Regions from separate parts of the Homo sapiens genome. Here region 2 is linked to region 1. The links are contacts of gene promoters, found by promoter capture Hi-C in blood cells and fetal thymus (Javierre and others, 2016). All regions are on one chromosome and are shown on one strand. Each heading gives the region's core, a stretch centred on a gene start or on the middle of the fragment in contact. The rest is flanking DNA. Distances are from core to core; before and after follow the strand shown.

Region 1 (6,345 bases), core at 3,846-6,345:
CTCAAGACCTTTACGTCAAGCACCCCGGAGGGCCCCTGCAGGAGCTGGGGCAGTACAGCCTGGCCCCGACGCCCGCACCGGGCAGATACCGGGAGCGGCCCGCCAGGCCCCCGGGGCTGCGGGGCGGGGATCAGGGGATGAGGCAGCGCGGCCTGCGCTCCGGGTGTCCCCCTCCCAGCCCCCCGGGCCCGCTGCGGCTGGTCCCCTAGGCCTGGGGTGGGGGGAGGCGGGGGTCCCCGGAGAGGGCCCCGGCCTCCCGGCAGCACTAACTTCTCAGCCAGCAGCTCCTCTATTCTCCTTCTTTTCTTCTCCCTAAAAGAGAGAATAAAAGAAGGGTCAGCATCGCGCTACACACTGGGCGCCGCGAGGGGAGGGGGGCGAGGGGACGGGGCGGGGGGTGTGGGGACCCCGGGTGGCGGCGGCAACCGCCCACCGCCGCGCTCTCTCACAACCCAGCCCAGCCCGGCGCGTCTGCAGAGCCCCGGTACTTACGGCTCCTCGCCATCCGCCATATTGTTCTCCGCCTCTTCCCAGGTGCCCACGCGCGGCAGGGCGGGGAGGAGCGGGACTGGCAAAGCGGGGAGGGGCGGGGCTGGCGAAGCGGGGAGGGGCGAGGCCAGAAACACAACCGGCAGGGAGGTGCGAGGTTGACTGCGGCTGGGCTCCCATGGGCTTTAAAGTCTTGCCCTGTAATTATAATCTTAATTACCTACGCTTAATTAGGTGAATCTTATACCGTGCATAATGTTGCTCTGCAGCGTGAAAATGTAGACAATACATTATGCGTTTACACAAACTATATGTTAATACGTAATTATACAAAATATTGGTATATTCTATGAAAAATTCGTGAAGAACCCTCCCAGTATGCCAGAGCTTTCCTCTGGGGGCAAAGATCAAGGAAATTTTCACTTTCTGCTTTTCAGGATGGTTCCAAAGTCTTTGCCTTTATAAGTACTCACTTGAATAATAAATTTATCTAAATCCGTTTACATTGGTGGGGTGGGAGATTATTATTTTCTTTGAACAAATCAGCATTAATATTTTCATGTCACATTCTGTTAGATAAGTTCAGCGGAAACAAAATGATTAAAACTTTTCCTGAGATAAATGTGTATATTTAGATACAAAGAAAAAAGTATAAAGGAAAACAATCACAAAAATCAAAGAATAACTGAGAACACCCATAATCCTATCACCTAAAGATAAATTGTGATAAAAGTTTCAATTATTTTCTTCTAGAGTCAGAAATACAAATATACACTGTGAATCTGGATGGCTGGATAGAGGGAAATGATCATGTTCAAAAATGTATGTATATACACGTACACACACATCTCCTTCTATGGAGTGGGACAAGAATGATATTTGGAATCAAAAGTAACTGATTTTAAATTCTTCTCAGTTGTGAGCTACGAAACCCTTAGACACTTCTATTTCTTCATTTATAAAGTGGGCATAACACTATTCACCTTGTAAGACTGATAATTAAGTAAAATCCAGAGTGGCTCTCAAAATACAGTTCCTGATCAACATCACTTGGGAAGTTTTTTTTAACACAAATTTTCACCCCTCACCGCCCCCACCACGCTCCCCACCGCCCCCCCGCCACCCCACCCTTCAGCCTTCTGCAAAGCCTGGGGTGATTCTCCACTGGTAAAGTTTGAGGGCCACTGAAATGGAGTACATAAAGCCTGATGGGTACTCAGTAAATGTAGCTGCTGTTACTACACTGTGATATTTAACCTCCTCTTGTCCTAGTTTTCAGTGAACCTTAAGGAAAGCTTGTCCTTTATGGTCCCCCAATTAGGTTCAGTTCAATAGCATTCACTGAGCTGAAAGTCAATGCCAGGCAGTGAGCGTGGGAATAGAGTTCACAGTCCCTATCAAGAGATACCAGCCTCCTTCTGCATCACATGTCTCAGCGTCAACTATGAAACTACTTTTTCTTGCCCAGACAACTCCACAGATGGTTTCACTGAGGATTTAACCTCAGTGCTTATCAAAATGGGCTCCTGTAGCCTGAACCCCCAACAATACTGGATACCCTTTGATTAGTGGTAGTGAGCATTGCAACCCTCTCAGATAGTGAAAAGCAGCAGTCACCTTAAAGGCCACCTAGTCCAGTCTCACCCATTTCACAGGGGAGGAAACTGAGGCCTAGGGATAGAGTACAGCTAGCCGATGAAGAAGTCTGCAAAGGTATCTGGCCCTGCATCTGCTTGCTTTGAGACTAACAGCCTGACTCACCATGGTGGTATTTTGATAAACGACACCAGGCACTCTCACTGGCTTAGATTGATTGACGGATTAGAAATAGCCATCTGCCCTTGCCAGGAATGAAAGCAACAGAGACATGCAAGCAAAACCTTCAACAGATTTATTTTACTTCAAATGGAACATATCATAAACAATTAGACTATCTGCTATGGTTTTTAAACAGACAGATAGTCTGAATGGTCCTATCTAGACACACCAGTCCCATTATAAAAGCCCCATCAAGCAGGGCTCGGCTTCCCACACCTGTAGTCCCGGCTACTTGGGAGGCTGAGGTGGGAGGACTGTTTGAGCCCAGGAGTTTAAAACCAGCCTGGGCAACATAGTGAGACCCTGTCTCTAAAAATAATAATAAATTAAAGCTCCAGAAAGACCTCTACAGTGAATCTGACCCCTCCCTCCCCGGAATGAACACTAACAAAGAGCTGCTACTAATAGCATTTCAAACAGTTACTGGAAAAAAGTAATGACTCATTACATGTTCATTTTTATTTAAAATAATTTAACAAAGGTAGAAATATTTAGAGAAAAAAAAAATCTCCCATACCCCAAAGAGAGAGACAGGGTTAACATTTTGGGAGGGAGACAGAAGGGAATCATGCTATAAACAGCTTTCTCTGTCTTTTCAGAATTTATTTATTTATGTTTAAACCTCTAAAGAGGTTTAATTCTTTCTTGGGTATCAATTGCCTGTGATCAAGGAGTAATCATATTGTTACTAATACACTCTTGACAGCTTTTGGTCATGCAGTTCTGAGCAGTTGGAAGATAAAGTTCTTAGTTACAGCTTCTAATACTCATAAATCTCACCAACAGTGTGGGGCCCCACTGGAGTTCCCACTCTCATCTTGACCAAGATGATTTACTCAGCTTGCCCACAGTGCTGCCTCTTGACATTCTGAAGCCCTGGGGAATTCCTCCACACCCTCTGACTTCCTGTAACTGAGCACTGAGGCTCAGTGCATCTCTATTTAGCACTCCTCTTACTGTCTCATATTTAACTAGTGTTTCCACTGGATTGCAGAAGTTTTGAAGGCAGAGCAGGATTACATTTTTCTCCTCTTTAAAAAAAAAAAGAAAAGAAAAGAAAAAAAACCCACAGTGCTTTCACAGAGCCTCAAAAGAACTCGAAATACTTGCTGGCATTGTACTGAATATTCTCAACCTTTTCCCCCTACCCAGATACATCCACAACAATAAAGTTGGAGCAAGGTAGAGAAAAGTTAGTAGATGTTTATAATGAAAGCATAGAAAACAAATCAGATTAAAGCACTATTAATAGCAAACAAGAATCGTGGGCTATCCTATTGCTAATAACAATAATAGTAACATATAACTGTGAACCTTTATTATACACTAAGCATTTCCTATACATTCCTTCACTTAGCCTCGTCTATATGGCAGATGTTCCATTATCCCCACTTTACACATGAAGACACCGAGGCTGGGAGAGATTAAGTAGTTTCTCCAAAGTCACCTGCCAGAGAGGAAGGAGCTGCGACTCTAATTTTGCTTTCTCTGACTTCACACCATCCCATTTTTCCAGAATCAAGAAAACATGAGCACTCAGGAATATTTTCACATTTTAAACTTTATTCAAAAAGCAGCACATAAGATATATCTTAGCACTAATTCCATGCAATCACCAAATTTTCCTAAACAACAGTAGTAGTAGTAATTTCTTAGAGTCGCTGTAAGCTCCTTAACTGTCTTCTGAATTAATAAGGAAAATTAAATTATGTTTTCTAGACTTTGCATTAGTATATTTCATTACTTTCCAAGTTTTCAAAAATTGGTGATCTGAGTAGAGTGAATTCACCTTGTCTAAGCCACTTAGGGGCTTAGAGACTCTGTTATCTTAGAAATCTTCACCTTAGAATTCTACCTATTACATTATACAATTAAACAAACTACTTTTTTTCTCATGCATTGTACCAATCAGCCCCTTAACTGAAAAAAGATGACCCTTGGAAGCTTAGAAGAGAATTGACAACGAATACTTCTTTTGCCAGGTCTTTGGGCTGGGATACAAAACATCACGTTATCTATGAATATATTGTGGTCCCTCAGTGAAAGCTGTCACCAAATATTGCAATAAAACTAAGAAAACTTTTGAAGTGGAATGCATATTTCTGCCCAGAAAATGCTGGATGCAGAACAACTAGTTCACTGCAGACAACTGTTTGCTTTAAAATGTAAGCAACATGCCCAGCTCAGGACTGAAGTGGCCAGAGTGCCTACTTTATCAGAATGGCATAGCAGTCCAACAATTTAGCCTAGAGAGAACAGAGGTGGAGAACAAAGAAGAGAAGTGAAAAAAACAGACCAGCCCTTCTGTTCTACATGACCTTCTTTCCCGTTTTGCCAATCTGATTTCACACATAGTGACTCATGGTGAAACAGAGAAAACATGGGAATTGCATTCAGATGTGTAGAGGTTAGTAAGACTTAGTTTTCAAAAGCAGCTCATTCTCCATTAACACTGTAGTCGCCTTCCATTTCATTTCACTTAGATTGGCATCTGCACAGCTGCCAAAATTTTTCTCTAAGTCAGAGAACACACTCCTAGGTAAACCTTCAAAAAAGGTATTTCGAAGGAGGCAGCTTCTCTGCTGCTAGAGAAGGCATTGCCACCTCCCTTCAGACAGGGGATTTCCGCTAGTTGCTTTCTGTCATTTCGTCTCTATTCTGCACTCAGTCCCTTGTTCTGTCTGGAGGTTCCTGTTTTCCTGTACCCAACCAAGAGCCAATGAAGAAGTAAAGAGGAGCAAACACGCCCGCCCACTCCCAATTTCCTTTGCTCTGCTGTCTGCCAACCGCAAAGCCGACCGAGACGGAGCCGCTGTCAACTCTCCAACTCAGCTCAGCTGATCGGTTGCCGCCGCCGCCGCCGCCAGATTCTGGAGGCGAAGAACGCAAAGCTGAGAACATGGACGTTAATATCGCCCCACTCCGCGCCTGGGACGATTTCTTCCCGGGTTCCGATCGCTTTGCCCGGCCGGACTTCAGGGACATTTCCAAATGGAACAACCGCGTAGTGAGCAACCTGCTCTATTACCAGACCAACTACCTGGTGGTGGCTGCCATGATGATTTCCATTGTGGGGTAAGTGGGGTCCCCCTACCCGGGACACCGATCCGGGGCGAGCACGGAGGGGCCTCGGGGTGCAAGATCCCGGGATGTAGAGACGCTCTCTGACCACGCTCAGCGCCTGCCCTGGCAATTCTGCAAGCGGCCAAGCCAGTGGAAACTTGTTTGCAGGGCGAGGCCGCAGTAACCTGGGGCCCCATTTTCTGCACCAAGGGCTGAGACTTGAGGGGGGCCCTAGGGGAAAGAGGACGGGGAAAATTTGCCAGCCGCAGGGAAGAAAAATGAGAGTTCCCCCACCCCCCTGCCCCCGCCCGCGTGCCAGGATCGGGCTCTTGCTGGAAAGATATTTGTAGCGCCCTCGTCTTTTAAAAATAAGAAGAAAAAGGAAAGTGGTGTAACCCTACCCTGGAGCTGGCTGGGGCGGCAGGGTGTGGACCCGGGCTAGTGTAAAAAGGGCAACCAAGTGGCGACGCACTTTGCTGCTTTCTCTGCCTAATGCCTGCCACACTGTACAGTAAAGCTGAGCTTGGGATCAAAAGGGGGGGTGTCTCCTGGTGGCGCATCTCCCATTGTGGGGTAAAGGCTGCCATGACTGTGGGAAGATGGCCTTCTGGCATTTTCTTCCAGCAGTGGCCAGGCGTGGTCACTTTCTCTGTCTTCGCTTCCTAGCCTGAGGTTTCAATGTATCAGAAGGCCTTTTCAATACCTGATACTTAACAAAGTATCCTGTGTTGAGACTGCATGTACACCTGCTTTCCTAGAAACCACCTTTCCTTCTAGTTCACCCTTTAAGAAATGCTTCTCTCGCTTATGCAGGATGGGTGGTGATATTCTCAATCTTGCTGATTATCTCCTACACATCTTTAAAGAAAAAGCCACCCTCAGACTTTATAAAGGACTCACTTGCACTTAAATGTCTGACATTTCTATTTCAGGGCAGACGTAGAGGGAAGAAGCAGCAAGCTGGCTTGGGAGAAA
Region 2 (7,047 bases), core at 3,080-5,579, 2.0 Mb before region 1:
AAACAACATTGTGTGACTCCTGAAGCACATTTTGAAATAGCTTTTAAGATATCTCAATAGTAGAGTCAGAGTTTTGGGACTTAGGATTGGAAACAATTACTACAAGCCTAAAATCCTGAGCTTTCATGTTGGTGTATAAATCCCATAAATCTCTTAATCACTCCTAGGGCAAGCTTTCATCTAATTTTCCCAAGAGAGAGTTATCAGACAAATTCTTGGAGTTCAATTAGGGCATGTTGGAGCTCTTCAGAGGATAGGTTTCATATAATTCTAATAAATCAATATGAATCCCAAGCTTGTATAATATAATTGTGTTAAATTCACTTCTTCAGAATGCTGTGCTATGACATTATGTCTTTAAATTGTTATCACAAAAGGCTGAATTTCTTTTCTAAAAAAAAGTAAAGTTAAACCTTCTATAAGTAAATAATAGGGCATTTTCTAAAGCTGTCTCACAGTGTATTTTTCTGGTTTGGTCTTTAGTTAATTTTACCACTGGTCTGTATCAACTAAAGGTATTTTATTTAAGATGTCACGAATAGTAATAATTACTGAAAAAGATATAGCACCTTAACTTAGGAGGCTGGTAATCTGTCAGAAGCGTAAAAATCATTAACACATGTATCCTTTACATAACTGAATTCACTTAAAAGGCAAACTACCAGGGTCTATAATTATAGCCTGATTACAACTTTCACTTCCTGTGTCAATTTCATGAAATGAAATCCATTCAGCGCACCAGCATGGCACATGTATACATATGTAACTAACCTGCACAATGTGCACATGTACCCTAAAACTTAAAGTATAATAAAAAAAATAAAAAAATAAAGTCAGCTCATAATAAAAAAAAATTGTCTTCATATCTCAGTTTGTTCTTCTTCCTGTTACTGTACTTTAGAAGAGTAATAAACTCTATTTAGCAACTCCTTTCCAAAAGTAGGCAATGTAAAATAAGTCAGCTTCTTCTAAAGCATTCATGTAAATGATTTTAGCCTTCCTCAGTCTTGACCTTTACTTACATTTCCCTCATTATGATAATTTTTCAAGCAATCTGTGAAAGATAATATCACAACTCTCACTTCCCCTAATTATAGGCTTGTTGTGAGAGCTGTATTTGCACTCTCCCACCTTCTTCCTGTTTTGTCCTTATGTTAATCTGTGAAAGAACTAATGGGCATAAATCCTTTAAAAATTATTTAATTCTGGTAAAAATACTTCACATGAGATCTACCCTCTTAGCAAATATTTAAGTGTACAATTATAGTTGACGATAGGTACGATGTTGTATTTGCATTTTTTTGTCTCTGTATTCTATTGACCAAGCTAGGCTCCTGAAGTGGTGTAGCACTATCTGGCATGGTGGATAGTGACATGAGAAGCCAAAAATGACTTCAGAAAGAGGGTAATTCAGAGGACTCATTAGCTTAGGTGCGAGGGAGACACACTACTGCATTGGAGTTGCATACAACTAAAGGGTTTGCTGGACAGCCAGATTTAGTCAGGCAAGTTCTGCCTTCTTGTTCAGATATGTTTTAGCTGGATAGAAAACACTTAAGAAATATCTATTAAGTAAATCCATTCACATAACCAGATATGGGAAAAAGCTGTGTTAGCATGTTCCTGGTATTGTAGAAACCCCATTTTTCACCAATGTACAAATAGAAGGCTCTGCTAAATAACTAATTATTACTTACTGCTATCCTAATAAAGGATAAGAAGAATGCCCATTTATCCAAGTGGGAAAAATTGAAATAATTATTTATTCTTGTTTTTGGAGTGTACTTATACATATATACTTGAGTGTGACTTTCATTCTGGAAACTCACATTGCTTAAAAAAAATTAAGCCACATTAAACTGAAGTTAAATAGTAGTCAAACTACGATTATCTGACTCAAGTGACAACACATTTATCTTTTTCCCATTCTTTCTTTGCTGATCAGTTCTTCAGTTCCAATATAGCTCCCCGTTGACTGCAGCAAAGCAACAGCCTTGATAGAGTTGATTTTTTTCTTCCATTTACTATTTCCCATCTTACTTATCACATAGGAAAAAAGAAGTGCTTTGCCATATATTGCAACTTCCAGAAAAACAAAATCTTCTTTATTTACATTAGAAAGCCCTGAAATAAGTGGAGCAGGTGAAATTGTCACAAAATTTGAAGGCATGAGTTAGCATGGTTAATCAGACATTCTATTCAAAGGTAAGGCACATAGGCTGTCTCATCTTTGACAGGAAGTATAGAGGACTAATGATTTTATCCATTCTTTCTCCCTCATTTTGCTTCATGCAATATACAAAAAATGATTCAGGTGGGTGAAAGACTTACATGTGAAAAGCAAAGCTTCTACGCAATTTTTTAAAAGGAGTTAGGGGAATATTTTTGTGTCATTTGCTAAGATTTGGTTGTTTGACCCCTCCAAATCTCATATTAAAATGTGATTCCTAATAAGGTGTTTGAGTCATGGGAGTGGATCCCTCATGAATGGCCTGGTGTTATCCTTGAGATAATGTGTGAATTCTTGTTCTATTAGTTCCCATAAGAACAAAAAAGAGCCTGGTGAAAAAATAAAATAAAAATAAAGATAAAAAAGAGCCTGGAACATCCCTGCCACCCCGTTGCTTCCTCTCTTTCCATGTGTCTCTGCACATGCCAACTCCCCTTCACCTTCCATTATGAGCGGAAGCAGCCTGAAGCCCTCACCAGAAGCAGATGCTGATGCCATGCTTCTTGTACAGGCTGTGAAACTGTGAGCGAAATAAGCTCTTTTTCTTAACAACTTACCCAGTTTTAGGTATTCCTTTATAGCAATACAAACATGGATTTAGATAGCACTGGAGCAAAAATGAACAGATCACAAGAGAAATGATTGGTAAATCTGACACATGAAAATTAAAAACTTGTATGTAAAAAAAGACACTGTAAACTAAGTTAAAAAATGACGACAAAAGGGAAAAAGATATTTCAAGACTTATAAGAAAAAGCATTCCTATCTAGAAACTGTAAACTCCTACAAGTCAATAAGAAGACAACGCAATTAAAAAATGGGCAAATAATATGAACAGGTAATTCACAGATGAGAAAACTCAAATAAACATATTAAAAGATGTCCAACCTCACTAGGAATGTGGGGAATTCAAACTAAAACAACAATGACCACATTTTATACTTCAAAATTTACAAGTCTATTAATACCAGGTTTTAGCTTGTAGAGAAAGAGGGAATTTTCATAAACTTCTGGCAGAAGTATAAATTGGTAAAACCACTTGGGAAAGCAATTTGGTAACACTTGGTAAAGAAAATAAACCTATCCACATTCAGGTATATTCCTTGACTTTTGCACATATGCATAAGGAGACATTATAAAGGTATTCATTACAGCAATGGAAACAACTAGATGAATGGCCACATAAATGACAAAATCCTATATGGTATCTAAAATGAATAAATATACCCAATACATATCAAAATATGATGTTCAGTGAAGAGCAAGTTTCACAATGTTTATTATTCAACTTGTATAAAAATATTAAGATATAGTTTATGCAGAAAAATATACAAATATGGACAGGAAAGATATAAGCCATCATCAGAATAGAGGTCATCTTTGGAGAGAGAAACATGGAGGGGATTGGAATAGGGGAAAGAAAAGAGGACATTCACTCTTCTCTGTAATATTTTATTTCATAAAAACAATTGCTGAAGCAAGCATGGCAAAATTAACATCTATCATTTGGAGTAATGAGGACATAAATATATATTATATTATCTTCTGTATTTTTTCTGCTTATTTTAATCATTTCATAACTAAGCAATAAAATAATAGCTGTACACTTTAAAGATAAATTAACGATAGATGCTCAAAACTAAAAATTTGAACTACTTAAAATATTTTATTTTCCAAAATAACAATTGATAAAAATTTTTTTAAAATTAAAAAACTGATTTAAAAAATAAAAAAGCTAAACATTACATAGCAGGACTTATAGAATATGGCCAATATGTTCTTTAGACAAAAATTGATTGTCTTTAATGCACTTACTTCAAGAGTTAATTCAGAATAATTCCTATAAAACCTGAGGCAAGTAGCTGAAGGAAATAACAAAGATGATTGTAGAAATCAATACTTTCAAAACTGGGTCTTTAGAAAAACAAAGAAAATAGAAAAATTTCTAGAACATTAAAGAGAACAAACAATAAAACCTAATAAGTGATATTAGAAATAAAAAAGGCATACCTACAGAAAGAAATAGAGAAGTAAAAATGAAAAGAGACTAATACACACACTGGTATGTGAACACATTTGAAAACAAAAAAAGAAATAAATCTTCTTAAAAATATACATATAAAACTTAAGAAGAAATAGGAAACCCAAATAAAAGGCAAACAAGGGAAAAATTAAGGATGGTATCAAAGGCTCTTGCATCGAATAGTATTATGAGTGAATTATTTAAGACGAAATACATATATATACCCACACATATATATATACACATATATACACACACACATATATATATACACACATATATATATATACATATATATATATGATTCCCCACCACAGAAAAATATGGAAAGCTACCCAGGTCATTTTCCAAAGCTAGCAAACCTTGAAATCTACATGTGTCAAAGATGGCATTAAAATGTTTCTATAGCTTTTTCTCACTTATAGGTATAGGGTGCACTAAAAAAGAATAATTAGCAATAGAATTAGCCAATATATTAAAATAATTCATCCTATGATAACAGTATGTTAACTTATCAGTAGAGCCAATAAGAAAAACACAGATGCAGCCTTAACAGGTCCTTAATCAGAGTTGGGATAAATTTTTTTTAATTATTATTTTTTTAACCTTATTTTTTTTAAATTTTACTTTGAGTTCTAGGATACATGTGCAGAACATGCAGGTTTGTTACATAGGTATACATGTGCCATGGTGGTTTCCTGTAGCCATCAACCCATCATCTAGGTTTTAAGCTCCACATGTATTAGGTATTTCTCCCACTGCTCTCCCTCCCCTTGCCCTCCACTCCCCAACAGGCCCCAGGGTGTGATGGTCCCCCACCGTGTCCATGTGTTCTCATTGCCCAACTCCCGCTTATGAGTGAGGACATGAGGTGTTTGGTCTTCTGTTCCTGTGTTAGTTTGCTGAGGATGATGGTTTCCAGCTTCATCCATATCCCTGCAAAGGACATGAACTCATTCTTTTTATGGCTGCATAGTATTCCATGGCATATATGTGCCACATTTTCTTTATCCAGTCTATCATTGATGGGCATCTGGGTTGGTTCTAAGACTTTGCTATTGTAAATAGTGCTGCAATAAACATACGTGTGCATGTGTCTTTATAGTAGAATGATTTATAATCCTTTGGGTGTATACGCAGTAATGGGATTGCTGGGTCAAATGGTATTTCTGGTTCTAGATTTTTGAGGAATCGCCACACTGTCTTCCACAATGGTTGAACTAATTTGCACTCCCAATAACAGTGTAAAAACATTCCTATTTCTCTACAGCCTTGCCAGCATCTTTTGTTTCCTGACTTTTTAATAGTCGCCATTCTAACCGGCATGAGATGGTATCTCATGGTGGTTTTGATTTGCATTTCTCTAATGACCAGTGACGATGAGCTTTTTTTCCATGTTTGTTGGCCAGATAGATGTCGTATTTTGAGAAGTATCTGTTCATATCCTTTGCCCACTTTTTGATGGAGTTGTTTGTTTGTTTTTCGTGTAAACTTGTTTAAGCTCCTTGTAGATTCTGGATATTTGACCTTCGTCAGATGGATAGATTGCAAAAATTTTCTCCCATTCTGTAGGTTTCTTGTTCACTCTGATGGTAGTTTCTTTTGCTGAGCAGAAGCTCTTTAGTTTAATTAGAACCCATTTGTCAATTTTGGCTTTGTTGTAATTGCTTTTGGTGTTTTAGCCATGAAGACTTTGCATATGCCTATGTCCTGAATGGTATTGCCTAGGTTTCCTGGAAGGGTTTTTATGGTTTTAGGTTTTACGTTTAACTCTTTAATCCATCTTGAGTTAATTTTTGTATAAGGTGTAAGGAAGGGATCCAGTTTCAGTTTTCGGCATATGGCTAGCCAGTTTTCCCAACACCATTTATTAAATAGGGAATCCTTTCCCCATTGCTTATTTTTGTCAGGTTTGTCAAAGATCAGATGGTTGTAGATGCTTGGTGTTATTTCTGAGGGCTCTGTTCTGTTCCATTGGTCTATATATCTGGTTTTGGTACCAGTATCATGCTGTTTTGGCTACTGTAGCCTTGTAATATAGCTTGAAGTCAGGTAGCATGAAGCTTTGTTATTTTTGCTTAGAATTGTCTTGGATATATGGGCTTTTTTTTTGGTTCCATATGAAATTTAAAGTAGTTTTTTCTAATTCTGTGAAGAAAGTCAAAGGTAGCTTGATGGGAATAGCATTGAATCTGTAAATTACTTTGGGCAGTATGGCCATTTTCATGATTCTTCCTATCCATGTTTTTCCATTTGTTCGTGTCCTCTCTTATTCCTTGAGTAGTGGTTTGTAGTTCTCCTTGAAGAGGTCCTTCATGCGCCTTGTAAGTTGTATTCCTAGGAATACAGCGTTGCTTTTATTGTTAATGGGATGGATAGATGGATAGTGTGTGAGATTTGTCTTTTTCTTTTTAAATTATATTTTCTGATTGATACATTGAAAAGCTACTAGGGTGTGTGTGTTTAATTCGAACAGACTTTTAATTGACTCTATGGGGTTTTTAAAATAAAATTTTCCTGGGCTCAAGTGATCCTCTTACTTCAGCCTCCCCAGTAGCTGGGACTACAGTTGCGTACCCCAGTCCAGCTATTTTTCGTGTGTGTTTCATGATGGGGTTTTGCCATATTACCAAGACTTGTCTCAAACTCCAGGGCTCAAGTAATCCTCCCACCTTGGCCTCCCAAAATGTCAGAATTATAGGTGTGAGCCAATGAGCCTGGCCCAATATTATTTCTGATAGCTTGGCCAGTCCATTGGAAGGAACCATTTGTTTCAACTTCTCAAAGCATTAGT

The links. Contacts are between HindIII fragments. The CHiCAGO score rates a contact against its expected background, and 5 or more counts as called.
Region 2: a fragment that was not itself captured here is called in contact with the fragment with the promoter of ARL6IP5 in region 1 in 1 of 17 cell types (total B cells); the score reaches 10.3 in total B cells.

Annotation. Positions count from the first base shown.
Region 1 is chr3:69,079,842-69,086,186 of GRCh38, forward strand. It overlaps ARL6IP5 (ARF like GTPase 6 interacting protein 5), which reads left to right and starts at 5,096. Exons shown (of 3, transcript NM_006407.4): 1 at 5,096-5,382. The coding sequence starts at 5,207. UBA3 (ubiquitin like modifier activating enzyme 3) reads right to left here and starts at 524. Exons shown (of 18, transcript NM_003968.4): 1 at 493-524; 2 at 271-312. The coding sequence starts at 512. RefSeq lists silencers at 3-232, 353-442, 563-632 and enhancers at 2,236-2,295, 3,100-3,259, 4,867-5,176. The HindIII fragment of the contact is 15,418 bases long and covers 4,250-6,345 here.
Region 2 is chr3:67,047,522-67,054,568 of GRCh38, forward strand. No RefSeq gene overlaps it. Among named protein-coding and RNA genes, the nearest start is that of KBTBD8, 53 kb to the left of the region's middle. RefSeq lists a silencer at 580-639. The HindIII fragment of the contact is 3,970 bases long and covers 2,345-6,314 here.